3 separate regions of the Homo sapiens genome follow, and all the other regions are linked to region 2. Evidence: promoter capture Hi-C in 16 types of primary human blood cells and fetal thymus (Javierre and others, 2016). All regions are on one chromosome and are shown on one strand. Each heading gives the region's core, a stretch centred on a gene start or on the middle of the fragment in contact. The rest is flanking DNA. Distances are from core to core; before and after follow the strand shown. Region 1 overlaps LINC02236 (long intergenic non-protein coding RNA 2236). Region 2 holds the start of CFAP90 (cilia and flagella associated protein 90). Region 3 has its middle 11 kb from the start of LINC02236.

Region 1 (3,866 bases), core at 213-2,712, 1.0 Mb before region 2:
TTTCTCTACTTCTGTCATATTTGTCTTGGTGTAACTGAACCCGCATCTTAAAATTCCCTGATTACCTCAGTTGGAAGTGAGTTCTCCTACATTTGCGCTCCTGAAACACGTGAGAATATTAGTTGTTCTGAATGAGCTGTTACTGTACTCACGGGTGGTACAGTTTAGAGAGGGTGACGTGTTTGTTATGAGTATGGGCTCTGGACCTAGCCTCCCTAGGCCCAAATCTCCGTTATCTGCTTTCACTCACTGGACCTAGGGCAAGTTAACTTTTCTCATCTGCAAAATGGACTAGATCTTGAAAGCAATGTCAGTGCATTTTGTGAGGATAAAACAAGTCACTGCATTTATTTGATTAATGTGTACAAAGCACTTTGAGTACACTGAGTACTCACTAATGCTAGCTGCTACATTTCCTACTAGTGTAATTGAACGAATACACACACTTAGAGTATATTACACTTTAAATAAACGTTATCGTATGTACTTGATTGTCACTATTTGGTGATAGAGACCCTGTCTTCCTTGCAGTGAAGGGCACCATAGTGGCTAAACTTAGAGTTACTTTAGAAAAACCAGGTGTTAGGGTGCCCCCAAGAGCATTGCCAGTGTGAGGGAACAGTATCAAAGAGGACTTCACAGATGACAGTTAAGGTTTCAGGTCCACATAGGTCTTAACTATAAATTGTGACAGCGTAAGGGCTGAAGGTCTGAGAGTGTGTGTGCTCACTAAGAGGCTAGGGGTTTCAAGTTTCCTGAAATAACTGCAAGAACTGCGCAACACAGAGAGAACCTACAGGGAAAGAAAGGAAGGGGCCGGGAGCTTGGACTCACAGTAAGGTCCTGGGATGGGGATTGAAAACCAAAAGCAACTGTGATGACACTCTGCTGCAGCTGGTGGGCAAAGCTGGGAAGAGCCGGAACCCTGGCTTCCTGTTCCACCTCCATAGGACCCATCCCTGCTGCTCCATGCCCTCTCTGAGGATCCACCAGTGCAAATGGTCATCTCAGCCTCCTAAGAGTCAGCCCTCTTGTGAATCCTCCTGCAGATACAAACAAGGCTGGGATGTTGCTTGCCCTTCAGTTGGGGGTTGTCTCAGGCAGAGGCCCTAAGGGATGGTGGTGACACCAGGCCAGACGGGAGAGCCTGGCTGTTTGCCTGAGAGTTCCAGCTTTGCCCCCAACAGCCATGAGACAGCTGTTCTCATGCCAAGAAAATGAATTTATACAGTGAAGTAAATCAAATTGTAAAGAACAATGTGATTAGAGAAAAAAAATCGTTTGTTATCTTGCAGTCCCCGGACATGATATATTCGTGGCCCAGGACCTTTTAAACAAAGAAATAATAAGAAACCATTTAGAAAAACAAATAAACTGGCAAATGTTTGTGAAATATTTATAAGATGCAGAGCCATTTTACATGCAAGAATTTATTAGCTAATTTTTTTTGTCTTGTGAAGGACTATTTTTGGAGACAATGAAATTGTTCTGGAAAAATACTTAAATTGGTAAGGATTAAAAACACACAAGAAAGCCAAGACTTTAATTACTATTATGATTTAGTTATATTTTTTGGGGAAAAATTATGCAAATCTATTTGTACTTTTAATCTTTTGTCAACATTTTCCCTATATTCATAAGTTATCCAACTTATCAAACAGAAAAAAGTCAGATGTATGAGGGGAAGAGATCTGGCTCAGCTAAAATTACTTGGTCTCTAACTCTGTGATGATGTGAGACCTTAGGAATCTCAGACTTGCTGTATTAGTGAGTAAGTAAAAATCCTGGGTTTTAGAACATTTAAAGGAAATGGTGTTTATTCTCCCTTATTCGTCTCACTTGGCAGTGGAATTATTGCAATTTCAGGGCAATGTACTTGAACAGTGATGTTGGCAAAAGGGAGTAAGAGTAGACAGGATAGTGAATGATTAGAAACCATTTTGCAGAGGGAGCAGTTGAAGGAATGGGGTTCTTTACACAGAGAGCAGAATACTGAGTGGGAAGCCATAGGCCAGCCCTCCAATGTATGATGGTTTCAATGTCCTCCTTCTTTCTCTGTCCTCTTCCCAGGAGGGGCGCTTGACCAGATGGGTGAGAGAGTGCAGAGCTTTGTGCATAGCAGTGCAGACAAGTCGTGCAATAGGGTGTGGTCAAAACGACCAAGAAACAGGATTGCGTGTCATGTGGGTGCTTCAGCTTGAGGAATCTGGAAATCCTAAAACATCCTTCAATTTTCCAGAGGACTTGAGATGTCTGTCCTTTTTGAGATGGACAGGTTCCCCTGAGAGCTGTCTCACGGTGGTCTACAAAGGGGGCACAGCAAGATGGACTTGGGAGTTTCTGTAGCTCTGCCGGCCAAACTCCAGCCAGGGGGAAGCCCATGGAAACTTGCTGGCAGTCCCAGCCTCTTAGAGTGATCCCCTGGGAGCCTCCCAGACTTTTTAAAGGGCGAGTTTGAGGAGAAGAAAGACATGTCGCTCCAAATTAGGCCACCAGTTTCTCTGCTAGTTCACTGCAACACTTTGTACATTTCCAGGTCATCTCTTACATACGCTGGAGATGTGTGATGGAGCTTGATGCTAATTAGCAGGCTAGATCTGTGATGTTTTTATTAAGTTGGGTCACAAAGTGTTCAATGCCTCTCTCTCTAGAATGATGATGCACTCATCAACCTGTCCTAAGTTCTGCGGCTTTAGCCAAAATTCTTAAAGAATAGGAAAAGTCCCACTTCACACCGTGTTCCATCAGGCTTTAACTGGTCACTGTACTGCTTGGTACAACACTCTGTTCATTTGTGTGAGTAAATAGAAGTAAGAGTCATTGAACTCAAGGAGATATAGCACTCTATTGAGGCTTGAGTCTTAGCAGGTGGTACCTTGGCAGAGAAGTGATTTCATTCTTAGAACTTTTAAAGGAAGTTTCTGGGAGAGTCACCTCTTGGGTGGAGGTTGGGTTTGATCTCAAGGACTTTGTGTTTGAGTTTATAGGACTCTGCCTAAGCAAACATAGAGCTGTCTAGCCTAAGTGGTGTTCTTTGATGCACACTGGGACTTTCTTGATCGGTTATTAAATGTAATTCATTGTTATAAATGTGCCCTTGACAAAAATGGATGTTCTTTAACTTTTGAATATAGAACTCTGTATCCATCCATTAGGGAAAGCTTGTCAATTGTATTGTTCAACTATTCTTGCTGAATTTTTTGTCTGATTGATGTATCAATAATTGTCATAGTAATCCAATATGATGGTGAATTTATCAAACTTCTTTCTGCAGTTTTAACACTTTTTGCTACATCTTGTGAGTGTTTTCTTAGGTCCGTACATTTGACAAAATTTCTTTTTGTCATTTCAATAAACTGAGTCTTTTCAAATTAATGTAATGATAATCTCTATCCCTAACTCTTCATTTTGTCTTAGTATCTCTTTTGTCTAGTATTGATGCAGCTGTATTAGCTTTCTTTCTGTTGGTAGCCATTTATGTCTTTTATTTCTTGAAACATTGAACCATATAAAATTGGCAATATCCATCCTTTTTTGTCCCACAAAAATGGCAATTTCGTATGGCTGAACCAATGCTGTCAAACTGCTTTTGCATGCCCCTATGCTTTAAGTGGGTCTCTTGTATACAATATGTAAACCCTTCTTTTGATCTTTGTCTTTTAACTATGACTTTAGCCCATTTACATTTACTGTAACTACTGGTATAATGGGATCCATTCTACCATACTAATTTATTATTTTTGTTTGCTTACCTTTCTACATTTTAAAAAATTGCTATTTTTTATTTATTCGATAATAAGATAGAACTTTTGTGTGCCCTCATATTCACTGGTGTCATCTTCCCTACAAACATTGCCATCCTATTA
Region 2 (3,427 bases), core at 134-2,633:
CCACTCTCAGTCCAGCCCTCCCTGCAGGCGGCTCGCCAGCTATTCCTTCTGGTCTTCGGTTTGCAGGAGGGCAGAGGGTTTCCCGCGCCCTGGACCATCCGGGCGTAGTCCCGGCAGCAAGGCCTTCTTTCCTTGCTAGCCTGGGCCTGCCGCAGACAGACCCCAGAGGGAGCCGCGCCCAGCCCGCTGGGCGGCCCCGGCTTCCCGCGACCCCCTCCAGACCCTGGGCAGAAAGAGCGCCCTGCTGTCCCGACAGAGCCACTGTGCTTTTGAGGGATCCTGACACCTAGTGGCTCCCGCTCCCTTCTCCGAAGAGCACCGGGTCCTATCTGAGCATTCCCGCGACTCCCAGCCCCTGATCGCAGCTAAGACACCCATTCGCGCACCCGGCTTCTCCCACATCCTCGTCCCAGGGGTTCAGCTGACACTGGTAGTCGCCTGAGCTGTACTCTTTGGGGCCCAGGCGCCTTGGCGGGAGCTCACCCTCCCTGTCTCCCCAGCTGACCCTGCCGCGCCCCCTTCATCTCCGCACGCTCCCACCCGGCCCCCTCCACAGGCTGTCCAGCCCCGCCCCTCGGAACCCACCCCTGGTAGTGAAGCCCTGCCCCCAGGGTCCCTGCCCGAAGGTGCGCTCCTCCTCTAGGGCCCCTCTACTCTGTGAGCTCTGTCCCCGATCCCTAGCGGTGCAGCCCCTCCCAGGGCCCCTCCTCGTTGTGAGCTCCTCTCTCCAGTCCCCGGCGGCGCATCCCTGCCCCCAGGCCCCCTCCCCTAAGGTGAACCCTGCCCCAAGGCCCCAGTCCCTAAGGTGAACCCCGCCCCCAGGCTGCCTCCCCTAAGGTAACCCCGCCCCCAGGCCCCCTCCCCTAAGGTGAGCCCCGCCCCTAGGCCCCCGCCCCTAAGGTGAGCCCCGCCCCCAGGCCCCTTTCCCTAAGGTGAACCCCGCCCCTACGCCCTCCCTCCGAGGGAGAGCCCCGCCCCAAGACCCTTCCGCTGGGGTGATCCCTTCTCCCCCGCCCCTCCGCGGCCGCCCGCCCCTGCCCAGCCGCCCAGCCGCCCAGCCGCCCAGCCGCCCAGCCGCCCAGCCGCCCAGCCTTCCGGTCTCCGCGCCCAGTCCGCGGTCCTCACCCGCGCCGGGCGGTAGTAGTAGCTGTGCTCTTTGGGGTCCAGGCGCCGCGGCGGGATGTAGCTGAAGGCGGACTGCGCCGAGACGGGCGGCGGCCTGGGCTTGCCCCGCAGCGTGGACGCGGTGGTCTCCTCCTCGTCGTCCTCCATGCCGCCACCGTCCAGCGCCCCCGCCTTGGCCGCGGTCCGTCCCGCCCGCCCAGGGGCCCAGTCGGAGTCTGCAGGCCTCAGGTTGCTCAGCGCCAGCGTCTAGCCCGCGTCTGTGTTCGGTCGTTGCCTGGAAACCGCCGCCTGGCGACCCGGAGCTGCCCTGCAGCATTCCCGCTCCAGGGTGGAGCGACCCTCCCCTCCTCCCTCCCGGCCCCTCGACTACACCTGGGGTCTCTCCTTCCTTCCTCCTCGGGAGGAGCCCGACTGGGAGACGCCGCGGGGACTACCCATTTCCAGCCCGCTCACCTTTCCCATGCAGCAGCCCCTGCTTCACTCACTGATCACTCCTTCGCGAGACCATTAGTGACTGAGCACCTAGCGCATGGTGTGTCAGGAGCTGGAGATTGAGCCTTGAACGGAGCAGGCCTTGTCCACAGGAAGCTTACAGTCTGGAGAAGACACATGAAAGACGCGAAGAAGCCAAATGACTTGCCGAGGCTCCAGGGCAGCGCTGTCCAATAGAAACATGATGAGAGCCACGTGTGTCGTTTCTTATTTGACTCAGTAAGTCCAAAACGTTATCATTTCAACAAATGGCACTAGCTGCCTTTCAAGCTCTCGGTGGCCACGTGTGGCTAGCAGTTACAGTATTGGCCAGTGCAGGTGTAAGGCTGCATGAATTTACAGAATCTGGCAGAACTCAGCTGCTGTGGACAGGGCTCTTGCAATCCTTTGCCAGTGTGTTTACGTTGGCCCTTGATCTGAATGCTGGGTCAATACCTGCGTTCCGTTTGTTGAAAATGTGTTAAGCTGTATACTCGTGATTGGTGGGTGTACAGCCAAGAAAAGTTAAAAACAAACAAACAAAAAAAGCCATGATGACCAAGGCTTGGGAAATGCTTTAGCCAGCGTGCCTGGGAAGGCCAGCCTTGCTGAGAAGGTGGTGTTTGAGATGAAGCATAGCGATAATGAGAAGCCAGTTCTGTGAGTCTGGCAATCCCTTCCAAGCCAACTTGGTCCTCTGAGGCAGAGACAATCTTGTGTTTGAATGGCAGCAGGAAGTGGGGTGGTGTGGCCTCATGAAGCCAGAAACTGGTAGGAAGTGAAGGTGAACAGATAGGTGGGGGCCTGATGGAGAGATCTTACAGATGATGGAAGGAGCAGTGCCCTGCCTTCTTCCCCATCCCTGCAACTAGGTAGGAATCTCTTGTCTGCCATTCTGTGATGCAGGCTGGTGGCTTAAGATGCCTCTCTCATTCTGAGGCACCTGGTGATCCACTCTGTAGAGGTCTCCAGAGTTCTAGAGATCCTTCTGGGCAGGATTTAAGACATCCCGGTGCCACCACGCTTTTTCTCTCTCTTTTTATTTATATCTGTCTCTCTCGTGGGTCCCCATGAGCTTCCTGAGAAACCCATGTGCCTTCTTTGTCCCACTAACACATCTTTTTGCTCCATGGCCAGGCAGAACACAAGTCAGCCATGAGTCAAGGGTCAGACACCTGCCCACCATGTCTCTAAGCCCCAGGGGACCTAGCAACCTCATTGGAGCCACTTGGAGAGGGTGACATATCCCTGGTGCTTGGAGATGGAGCACCATCTCTCCTACATGTGAAGCAAAGGAAAAGGGGCTCTTATTTTTCTCCCATGGGCTGAAGTCATGAAAGGCATGACTCATACTTTTTTGCTTTTTTGGCCTCATTAAAGCAGCAGCCAAATATGTTTTTTTTTTTTAAGCCCTTATAATCTACTGCCTCTCTCAACTTCTCTCAATGTCTCCAAATACACAAGAGAGGTCAACTAATGGTCACAAGATTTTGTAAGCTTTGCATTGGTGACCCAGTATCATACTTTGGAAAGTGAAAGTACTTGAAACCAATTATCTTGGGAATTCAGCTAAAACTGAGACCGAGATAATTTCTTAGTAAAAGAAATTAGTAAAGTTTACACAGTTATACAGATGTGAATCTGCTAACTTCAGTTCAGTCGGTGACATTTTGTCATGTCCTAGACCAAGAGCTCTTGAGGGCAAGGCTACCTACATCTTTTTCTTCTTGGATGGAGATATGGTTAGGCTTTGTGTCCCCACCTTAATCTCATCTTGAATTGTAATCCCCATAATCCCCACATGTCAAAGGAGTGACCAAGTGGAGATAAT
Region 3 (3,677 bases), core at 399-2,898, 1.1 Mb before region 2:
TGCATAGGAAAGTTAATGGTTTTAAAGATATTGATCTTGGCTGGGTGCTGTGGCTCACACCTGTAATCCCAGTGCTTTGGGAGGTCGAGGCGGGTGGATTGTCTGAGGTCAGGAGTTCGAGACCAGCCTGACCAACATGGTGAAACCCTGTCTCTACTAAAAATACAAAATTAGCCGGGCATGGTGGCAGGTGCCTGTAATCCCAGCTACTTGGGAGGCAGGAGAATTGCTTGAACCCAGGAGGCAGAGGTTGCAGTGAGCCGAGATCACGCCATTGCACTCCAGCCTGGGCAACAGAGTGAGACTGTCTTAAAAAAACAAAAAACAAAAAACAGAAATATGTATATATCTTGTCTAGCACACTGTTCATAGCCAGTGTTTAAAATATGACACCTTGTTTAAGTGCTATTTTCTAAAGACAGTTGTGTAGATTTTTAAGAGGCAGTCGCAGTGGTTCATTTTATATGTTAACCTGACTGGGGCAACGAATGCCCAGATAGCTGGTAAGACAGTATTCTGGATGTGTCTGCAAGGGTATTTCTGGAAGAGATTAGCATTGCAATCTGTAGCCAAATGAAGATTCCCTTCCCCCATGTGGGCAGGCATTGTGCAATTCACAGAGGGCCCAAGTAGAAAAAAAGGCTGAGAAAGGGGGAGTTCATTCTCTGCTGGAGCTGGAACATCCATCTTCTCCTGCCCTCTGGTATCAGACCTCCTGGCTCCCTCCCTTTCCCCTACCTCACTTCTCAGGCCTTTGGACTCAGAGACTGAATCACATCACCAGCTTTCCTGGTTCCCTGGCTTGTAGATGGCAGACAGTCTGACTTCTGGGCCCCCAGAATCACATGAGCCAATTCCCATAAAAAATTTTTCTCTCTCTCAAACTCTCTTCCTCCTATGTATGTAATATATCCTATTGATTCTGTTTCTCTGGAGAATCCTGATTAATACACGGTCTGAACTCAGAACATCACGCGTGTCCATACAGTGAAGAGTGTTGCACAAAGTGGCAGAGTGAATGGCACAAGCAGCCAGAAATTGCTTGTCCCTGGGAAAGAGCTGGAATGAAATGCTCCCCCAGGCTGGCCAACTGTGCTGTGGCTACCTGGGCCTCAGGGGAGGAGGGAGCAGTGGAGAGAACCAGGGCCCTGTGAGCAGGGAGGTCCAGGTTTCCTCCAAAAGAGGAATGTGGAGGCAGAATGGAGATCACATTGGGGCTGTTGCTTCCAGCTCTTCTGGAATCTGGAAGCACTCAAGTTGGTGGCTGTGTCTGGCTAAGGTTTCAGATGAGCTAAGAAGCGGAAGACAGTCCACTGTTGCCAGTCCCTTTAGAGAAGGAGGGAGCCAGGCTGAGAGGGCAAATCTACTGACCCAGGACAGCTGGAAGCTAGGGAGGGACGAGCTCCCGTGCATCGCAATAGATGCAATGGACGTGACGTGCAATCATCGGAGTCAGGGTTTAAGGCTGGGCTGCTCCACCTCTTCTGAGTGCTAAGAATCCCCTGGAATGTTTTCTAAAAACGTGGTTTCACTCGTTTGATCCTAAAGATTATGATGCTGGAGTCTGGGGGCAAAGCTCAGAGCTCTTTATTTTTAACAAGCATCCCAGGTAACTCAAAAGTAGCAAATACTGGTTTAATGTGCATTATCTTTGACCATTTGCAAGTGGGTTCTTAAGTTAACATAGTAAATTGAAAGATGAGACAGGTGCGACACATTATTCAGGGAAACCCTTCTGTTTCAAAGAATGACTGCTTGGCCCATCTGACTTGTGGTGGTAAAGGCAGGAAGATGAAATAAAGCACCCAGTGTGTGCAGTGTTTAGCATGAATGAAGTTAGAAGGAATGAAATCTACGTACAATTTGCCTACATAGCAGCTGCATGAAAGTGAGCTGGCTTGTGATACGGCAGCTTAGAAATAGGGCAGCTTAGAAAACCAGATTGGTGGGGGCAAGCAGGTGAAGGGAGGCCGGGGGTCCCCCATGACCTATACTTCCTTTTCCCTTTGCAAGCCCTAACCTGCTGCTCCTCCAACCCTTGACCAAGGGAGAGGATGGGCTCCCTGGGGAGGGCTGAATGAGGGTGGAGCATGATGTGTGTGTGTGTGTGTGTGTGTTGGGTGGATGTGTATATGTGAGGTATGTTGTGTGCGTGGTGTGTATTGTGTTTGTAGTGTGTTTATGTGTGCTGTGTGCTCTATATTGTGTGCATGAGCATGTGTGCATGTGTGTAGTATGGTGTGTATTGTGTATATGTGTGTGTTACGTATGGTTTGTATTGTGTATGTAGTTGTTTATGTGTGGTGCGTGCTATGTATTGTGTGTATCAGCATATGTGCATGTGTGTAGTATGGTGTGTATGTATGTGTGTGGTGTGTATTGTATATGCAGGGTGTGAATGTGTGTGTGGCATATTGTGTGTGTATGTATGTAATGTGTGTGTGTGTTGTGTGTGTATGTGTAGTGTCTGGTGTGTATTGTGTGTATAATGTGCGTGTAGTGGGCTGTGTGTGTGTGTGTTGTGTATGTAGTGTGTAAGGTGTATGTGAGTGTGCTTGTGGCATGTATTGTGAGTGTGTGTCTCTAATGTGAGGTTTGAAGGGCCTCACAGTTATGCCCACAAAGGTCACTTGGTCTTTCCTGGAGACGCCTCATGGGAGTTTTCACTGTGGCTTCCTGCCACTTGCTGTGGTCTTAAAAAAAGTAAAGAGAGTTACAAATCATTCCTTGTTTGCAGCATAAATTGCAGATGATAATTCAAATTCCTGCATCAGGTGGAAAGTAGCAGATTTAAAACACTGCAAAGAAGGGGCTGAGCAGTGAGACGGATGCTTTGGAACAATCGAGAAAGTAAGAGCCAGCTGTAAGGTTGCCTGCAGCCATGGAGCAATGAAGTGTCAAGGTCAAAGATCCCCCCAGGTCACGCAGTCCTGCCACTCTCCCTCCCTCTATGGCCCTGCGCACTTCCAGTGGCATAGCTAGGGTGGATGAAGGGGACACCTCTGACCACATCTCTCTGCCCTCTGACTCAAGTCCTTCCTGCTATAATGAAATCCCCCATGCTCCCTGAGTTTGGCATCTACTTAATCAAAGAATGTGGAGACTTAGTTCTCAGGAGGGCCGCTACTGAGTGGGTATGCCACTGGTCAAGAGGGTAACAGGAGACAGAAGACCCAGGAGGAGACTTTGGCCTAAATGGATCAGCAACACCACAGAGCATCCACTCCCCCAGAGCATCACCCGGAAGGACCATCCGTTCGGAGACATCCTGGGAGAACAAGAGGTTTCTTGTCTGACTCTAAAATTTATTTTATCAGTGTATCTAGGATTGGGCTGAGTTTAAACAGAAAACCTTTAAATAAGCACTATATGCCTGCTAGACATATTAATGCAATAAAAGAACCCTGTGTCTTGCTAAACTAAATTCTCAAAAGTTAACATTAAAAAATGATTCACGGCCAGGTGTGGTGGCTTACGCCTGTAACCCCAGCACTCTGGGAGGCCGAGGTGGGCGGATCACTTGATCCCAGGAGTTTCAGACCAGCCTGGGTAACATGACAAAACCCTGTCTCTACTAAAACTACAAAAATTAGCTGGACATGGTGGCACATGCCTGTGGTTCCAGCTACTTGGAAGGCTGGGGTGGGAGGATCACGTGAGCCTGGGAGGTCAAGGCT

What was found. The method cuts DNA at HindIII sites, captures the fragments that hold promoters and counts their contacts. A CHiCAGO score of 5 or more calls a contact.
Region 1: a contact is called between a fragment that was not itself captured here and the fragment with the promoter of CFAP90 in region 2, in 1 of 17 cell types (activated CD4 T cells). The highest score is 7.8, in activated CD4 T cells.
Region 3: a fragment that was not itself captured here is called in contact with the fragment with the promoter of CFAP90 in region 2 in 2 of 17 cell types (total CD4 T cells and naive CD4 T cells); the score reaches 8.7 in total CD4 T cells.

The regions. Positions count from the first base shown.
Region 1 is chr5:6,803,222-6,807,087 of GRCh38, forward strand. The region is part of intron 1 of LINC02236 (long intergenic non-protein coding RNA 2236); the gene reads left to right. Among named protein-coding and RNA genes, the nearest start is that of LINC02236, 9.3 kb to the left of the region's middle. RefSeq lists an enhancer at 546-1,046. The HindIII fragment of the contact is 3,393 bases long and covers 1-3,159 here.
Region 2 is chr5:7,849,750-7,853,176 of GRCh38, forward strand. CFAP90 (cilia and flagella associated protein 90) reads right to left here and starts at 1,384. Exons shown (of 3, transcript NM_001089584.3): 1 at 1,126-1,384. The coding sequence starts at 1,272. It also overlaps a transcript of MTRR not described here. The HindIII fragment of the contact is 6,768 bases long and covers 1-1,711 here.
Region 3 is chr5:6,783,369-6,787,045 of GRCh38, forward strand. No RefSeq gene overlaps it. Among named protein-coding and RNA genes, the nearest start is that of LINC02236, 11 kb to the right of the region's middle. The HindIII fragment of the contact is 5,319 bases long and covers 1-3,677 here.